Regions from separate parts of the Homo sapiens genome. Here region 1 is linked to region 2. Evidence: promoter capture Hi-C in 16 types of primary human blood cells and fetal thymus (Javierre and others, 2016). All regions are on one chromosome and are shown on one strand. The core of a region is centred on a gene start or on the middle of the fragment in contact, and the rest is flanking DNA. Distances in the headings are between cores, read along the strand shown.

What was found. The method cuts DNA at HindIII sites, captures the fragments that hold promoters and counts their contacts. A CHiCAGO score of 5 or more calls a contact.
Region 1: a contact is called between a fragment that was not itself captured here and the fragment with the promoter of BMS1 in region 2, in 2 of 17 cell types (total B cells and total CD4 T cells). The highest score is 5.7, in total B cells.

Annotation. Positions count from the first base shown.
Region 1 is chr10:42,559,912-42,563,556 of GRCh38, reverse strand. No RefSeq gene overlaps it. Among named protein-coding and RNA genes, the nearest start is that of ZNF33B, 77 kb to the left of the region's middle. The HindIII fragment of the contact is 5,567 bases long and covers 1-3,645 here.
Region 2 is chr10:42,781,296-42,784,711 of GRCh38, reverse strand. BMS1 (BMS1 ribosome biogenesis factor) reads right to left here and starts at 1,917. Exons shown (of 23, transcript NM_014753.4): 1 at 1,882-1,917; 2 at 142-350. The coding sequence starts at 317. RefSeq lists an enhancer at 1,737-2,086. The HindIII fragment of the contact is 6,696 bases long and covers 190-3,416 here.

The DNA.
Region 1 (3,645 bases), core at 1,039-3,538, 220 kb after region 2:
CAGAGCTTTGACTTGGTGATCAAGGGCACCATAGGTGAGTGACCTGAGTGAACCAGGCAGATGCTCATGGCCTTTTTAAACATAACTTTGGAAGTTACACAGCATCACTTTCATGTCATGTGTCAGTGACAAGTGAGCACTAGTGTCCAGTCTGGTAAGGGTGGGCATAGACCCCCATATCTCAAAGGGAGAATAGCAAAAAAATTGCAAACATCTTTAAAAAGCCACATGGATATTCTAGTTTAAAACTACTCAGGTTTTTTTCTCTCCTGGGCTTCTCACCACAGCTCTGGGGTGATCTTAGGGCTTATGTTTCCTCCCCAACTTGGAGGCAGCAGAAAAAGGGACTTTGGTAGTGGTTGTGGCCAAGGGTCTTTTACTTATGTCCTGTTAGATCCACCCAAGAGTGATGCAGGTCAGCAATCGCCCAGTCTCACTTATAAGTGGGAGCTAAATAATGAGAACCCATGGACACAAAGGGGAACAGCAGACACTGGGCCTACATGAGGGTGGAGTAGGAGGAGGGAGAGGACCAGAAAAAATAATTATTGGGTACTAGGCCTAGTACCTGGGTGATGAAATAATCTGTACAACAAACCCCTGTGATACGAGTTTACCTACATAACAAACCTGCACATATCCCCCTGAACCTAAAATAAAAGGTTAAAAAAAAAGTTCTTGGTAGCTGAGATGCCTCTCAAATATGTGATAAAAGATTTGTTACTTTGTCACACAGGCCAGGGGTAAGGTAATTGTGGGTTTTACTTCTGCCTCAGTCCCTGTGAGTTGATTGACAAGTAAATGCAAATATTCAGGGAAACTTACTGAAGCGTTATGGGGCAATAAAAGCTAATGTCTGCCTTAAATGTTTCTCTATCAAGGAACCATTTAATTGACTCTGTTGAATTTAAAAATCACAAGATTTAGGCCAGGTGCGGTGGCTCACAGCTGTAATCCCAGCACTTTGGGAGGCAGAGACAGGTGGATCACCTGAAGTCAGGATTTTGAGACCAGCCTGGCCAACATGATGAAACCCCACCTCTACTAAAAATACAAAAATTAGCCAGGCATGGTGGCAGGTGCTTGTATTCCCAGCTACTCAGGAGACTGAGGCAAGAGAATCGCTTGAACCTGGGAGGCAGAAGTTGCAGTGACACAAGATCGTGCCATTGCATTCCAGCCTGGGTGACAAGAGTGAAACTCCATCTCAAAACAAAACAAAACAAAACAAAACAAAACAAAACAAAACAAAAACAATTCACAAGATTTAACTATTTGGAATGGAGAGGAGGCTTTATTTCTTATAAGGGGTTACAGCCTGCAACAGGCTGAGAAGAATGCCTCTGGCTAAGACCAGGGACTAGGGACAGGCACTTTGAAGGAATATAGGTTGGGGTAGGAGCATTATGCTGGACAAGTTAGCTAAACATACATCTTCAACAGGTTATAGGAGGAGCTATGAATATGCATGAAGGTGGTCCTGAGGCACATGTATTGAACCAACATGCATGTAATACATGACCCATGTTCACTTTGGGGTGGAGTCCTAACACTTGAATGTATTATAATTAGGCCCTATCAGTCAAAAGGTCTTTACAGGACACGAAGGCACTCAAGTGTGCAATCTCTGTAAAACCAGCCAGAACCAGTTCATGGTGGGTGGTCTTCTTATCAGGAGAAAGTTACTGAAATCAGTCTCTTGTCTAATCAAAGCTGTAGTTATGGTGCTTGGGACAGGAGTTGGGAGCCAATTAGTGTCTGGTGATGAGCTACAATTGTTTTTATTTTGCTTATGTCAAGGCCAGTGTTTATTTAGCTGCTAGAGAAAAAAGAAAAACCTTGTGGCAGTTAGACCATAGTTAATCTTTAAGTTTAGAGTGCTTGACCTAACCCTTGCCTGGCATGGCCTTAGGTCTTGTTTATAATTGATATCTCATTGCCACAAAAAGTCTGTTCTGCCAGTCTTATGATCTCTATTTTAACATTAATGCTGGTCAGTCGCTGTGTCTAAACCACAAACATGAGGGGGTATAATGAGACATGTCTGACCTCCCATCCCATCATGGCCAGGAACTCAATTGTAAGATTTTTCTGGGGTCCCCTTGGCTAAGGGGAGTGTCCTTCAGTTGGTGGGGGCTTAGGATTTCATTTTTAGTTTACAATTTCTGCAAAGGGAAAGGCTGCTGATAAACCTTAAACTTCCTGCACTTGTGTTTCAAAGCAATAAATCAGACCTCTTAAGTACTAATGGAGTTGTATACAATTTGTATGGTGGCCAGTTTCCCTTCTAGCCTGAAAGCCCTGTGAAGACAGAGTTCTTGGCTTTTTTATTCCTTAACAGTTTTCTTACTCCCAAATTAGCATGTAGCAGCAGGTACACAGATGAGAATCTCTTTCTTTGTTCCCCACAGTTTCTACCTTGAACAATTCTCCCTGCCAACATGCAGCATCATCCTGTAGCCTTATAGTTTCCCCAACATCTAATATATGTTCTTCCAGTAACTGGAGACTGAGATGCTGCAGGGCCAGACAGCTGTGTTCTTAGCCAAGTGACAAGCAAGGCTTTGTTGGGCTCTTTTTACATTATTCACCTTAGAGTCCAAGCTGAGCAACTCAAAACTATACACATGGGGCCAGAAAATCATCAGCCTCTGAGGGTCAGCTATATGATCTTACAAGAGCTCATTAGAGATGAAAAACTGCCTTGTAAATTCCAAAGCGTATCTCTAGCTCAAGATTGCCTCTCTTCATATTGTCTCCTTTTTTCCAGTGGCTCCAATAGACAAAAACTGTAGCAAAAATTGTTAATTTTGGGGACTTGTTCTGTTTCCAGTATTGAGAATTTAAATTCCAAGCTGCCCACTAGCTGCAAAAAGCAAGGAAGTTGTATCACCTTCACTTTCCGCTGCAGCTTTTCCTGATAAGTGTGTTCCCTCTAGAATTTATGAAATTGAAAGCATTTAACATTTTATATCAATTTTATCATATTAATACATCTAGATGTAATAGCCACAAAACACAAAGCCATTAAATTTTTTTTTCTGTTGCAAACTAAATCCATAGCAGTAAATCCAGCATTTGCAGTTAGGTTAGCATTACTGCTGTGGGAAAGATTCAGGTTGGAAAGCAGATGGGGGAGGGTACAGGGGGTGGTAAAGAAGGAGGCAGCTCTTGCAACAGGGCAGCAGCTGGGCTGAAGAAGAGGCTGGATGGAGTCTTGGTGCCCTCCCCACCCTCCCACCCTCCCACCCTCCCACCCCAGCTTTGCTCCAGCCCTGAGAACTTCTAACATTTTTGGGGCCACCTAACACTCACCTTTATAATTTGTCACTGTTGTTTTTTTACCCTCCCACCTGGAGAAGAGAATAAAAAACAAAGCCAATCCCCAGATGTATACTTTCCCCCTCACTTCATCCAGCACAGCTCAAAGAAGCCAGGGTTGGATCCATTTCTAACCCCAAAGGTCACTGTGGCTTCTAACAGCAGATGGCAGTTCAGCTGCTGCTCTCAAACCATGGAGGGCTCGATAGACACCAAGGCTTATCACCATTCCCCTTCATTCTTCCTTTTCCCAAACAGTGATGGAGCCAAATCTTAGTGAATCAGGACTGTTCTAGCAAATTCCACTTCTGGGCCAGGTGCAAT
Region 2 (3,416 bases), core at 668-3,167:
TTTAGTGAAAGCCACACACCATGAATCTCCATGTCCTTTGGAGCTGGACTAGACTCGTGAATCCAAATGTCACCTGTGAGAGGCTCCTACTATTTAAAAAAAGAATCAATGGAAGAATGACCAGACCGTAGCCTAACATACCTGTGAAAGGATCGAGCCATCCGCACAGCAGACTGAACTGCAAAAGCTTTGGGATTTCTCTTCCGGGCATCTTCTTCGTCTCCTAGCTGGAGATCCTGCAGAAGCCGCTTCTTTTTCTTTGCAGCTTTGGGTCCACTGTTTTTCTTTCTGTGTTTCTTCTGGTCCTTAGCCTCCATAGTGGCTATTTACCAATAACAAGTAACTCTAACCTACAAGGAAGAAGGTTGGGGTAAGGAGATGGGAGAAGCATTTTACAATCCAGGCAATACCCAGGGAAAAACAGTAAATTTCATTTATTTCTTTATGAAGAGATGATGTATTTGTTCACTGAACAAGGGTAGAAACTGCTTAACCATCCCCAATTTCATTTCTCTCTGTTATGCTATAAATTAGATGAGTTACCTCTCTTAAGATTACATTTTATGGTTAAGTTACTTTTTATTCATCTTAAGTGTCAACATCAGCAGTATCTATTTCTGCAAGGATAGAAATATACTATATCTGTACTTTTCAGCCATTTAGCCATTAGCCACATGTGGTTACTTACAATATACTTAGGGAAACTGAAAAAATGAGTTTTTAATTAATTTCATTCTAACTCCAAATAGTCACATGTGGCTACCATACTGGACAGCTCAGACCCAGGTATCAACTGGACTGATGAAGTGGTTTCCTAACTTAAACTAAAACTTAAATTTTAATAAAAAAATGTGAAACGTTTTTATGAACCTCCAATATGATCGCAGTATTACTTTTAGTACCTGTTGACTCTGTAAAACTCCTAAATTACAACTTATCTACATACATTTGAAAAATAGAAATAGCTGTACGTGTGAGATAGGACTGGTTCTAGATGACACCTGGAGACCCCATGAACTTACAGAGACCCTTCCAGTGATTTCTGAGTTACCTGGGAATCTGTGGCTAATAAATTGGCAATCACTGAATTAGTGAGTTATTTTAGGAAATCGGGCTGCATAAAATCTGACAGCTTGATTAAAAAAAAAAAGCGGAGCAGGATGCCATTTCATTCAATTAAGGTACTGTATTCATTCCGTTGAATAAATATTTGTGTCTGTCTACGATGTGCTAGGCACTGTGCCAGTAAGTGGATACAGCTATTATCTGACTTGCAGAGGAAATCCAAACTATTATCTTCCGCGCCACGCAATAAGGGCGACATTGGAAGGCTGCACAGGGTGCTACTGGAGCACGGAGGTGAGTCAGAGGCTTCCCACAGACACACACCAGCGGAAACAAAGTCTTTATGTATTACCATAATGTCAAGAACACTGGCCAGGAGTTAGGAGAGCTGGGCGCTAGGAACGCTTTGAAACCGAATAGCTGTGTGATTTCAGAGATTATGTTTCTTCTCTGCTATATTTTAGTTCAGCACTTGTACTAATGTTTCTCTCCCTGTCTTTCTTCTTGGTGGGAAAAGCACAATTTGGGGTCAACAGATCCAGCTCAGGTCTAAGTCTCCTACCGGGACCACGTCGCCAGGAAACGACGTCGCCCAGCCACCTTCCCTCCCCGTCTGGGCTCTCTGCAGGGATTCATCACGTCACTCACCCAACTACCCCAGGACACCTCCGCCAGATGAGAAATATGCCGCTCCTCGGGAGCAAAGATGACCCGGAGGACCGGGGGAGGACCTTCCCACACGCACGACTCGCGATCTTCCCAGTGCCCCAGAACCAGGGACCCCACCGCCGCCTACCCCAACCCGCAGCACCGAACCTGCTCGCAGCCGCGACTCCTCAGGTCAGCATGGACACCGCCGGAAACGGAAATTCACAGTCGCGCTGACTCGCCGGAGGGAAACAAGAAGGCAGAAAAAAGAGACCGGCATGGGGACGGCTTTCAGGGGAGAGCCTGAAGAAAGAGGGCTGAACAGCTGAGTGCGGACGCAGGCGCCGTCCGCGCAGTGCGTTCCACCGGGTCCAGGTCCTTCCAGATTCCTCTCCACCCCGCCCTCGGAATCCGCGGCCTCAACTTCCGCGGTGGGACTCCGGAGCAGCGTGCGCCGCGCTCGCCTGAGTTCTCGCCGAAGGCCAGGGCGGCTCTGCGGCCTGGCGCCGGTTAGTTAGTGTGGTGCAAAAGCCGGAAGGAGACACATTTGGTCCTGGCCTCCCGGCAGTCACCGTGCCAAGGACGAATGGACTATCGCTTGATTTGGAGTACACTTCCTCCTCTTTAAAGATTACAGATGAGGGGGATCTCGCGTTCTGGGGTGCCCTAAAGCCCTCTTTTGGCAGGGCGCAGTGGCTCACGCCTGTAATCCCTACACTTTGGGAAGCCGAGGAGGGAGGATTGCTTGAGCCCAGGAATTCAAGACAAGCCTGGGCAACATAGGGAGCCTACCTCTCTCTCTTAAAAAAAAAAAAAAAAAAAATTAGCCGGCATCGTGCCGGGCGCCTGTGGTGCTTGTGGTCCCAGCTACTCTGGAGGCTGAGGTGGGAGGATCGCTTGATCCCAGGAGGCGGAGTCTGCAGTGAACTGAGATGAGCCACTGGACTTCAGCCTGGGCAACAGAGCAAGACACTGTCTCTAAGAAAAATAAATAACATAAGGCCCTCTTTTGCCAGGACCAACAAACCGTGAGGGCAGGGACAAACTGACCCAGCCTAAACTGCCTCGCCCTCCCTAAACCCGGGAAAGGGGCTTTACCTGAGTGAACGTAGCATCTTGCCGTTTTCTTACTGCACAGCTTTACCTTCCCAGGGATCCGCCCATTGCCACCTGAGGAAATGCCTTGGAGTCCATCTAATCCCCAGCCCAGCTACTTGGGAGCCTACAGAGCGTACATTGTCAGAGGATGCATCTTCCTTTAGTCTTGGAGGGTTTCTTTTCAATATGATCCCGCTGGTGCATTCAAGGCTCAATTCTACACCAAAAACTAGGCCCACTCCTGTCACGAGAACCCCAGGCGTCAGGTCTTCTCACAGGCACCTTGTTCTTGCCCTCAGCAGCCCCCAGGTATTCACTCTGCATATTCTAGATACTGGGTGCTGGACTTGGGAGGCTACCCACGTGGCACATGCTTCCCTTATCCCTGAAGAGCTTAGAGTGTTGTAACTTCTTCACACTACACCTCTTACTTCTTGAAGATTTCAGTATCCAGGTAGATAATCCTTCCAACATCCTTTTGGTCTCATGAAGCCCACTCCTGTCCTCTGCCCTACCTCAGCTTCCCCCTCCCTCCATGATCAGACCTTAGACCTTGTCAGGTCCAAGGACTGCAACCCCCACAGTATCCCACTCTGACCAGGTCT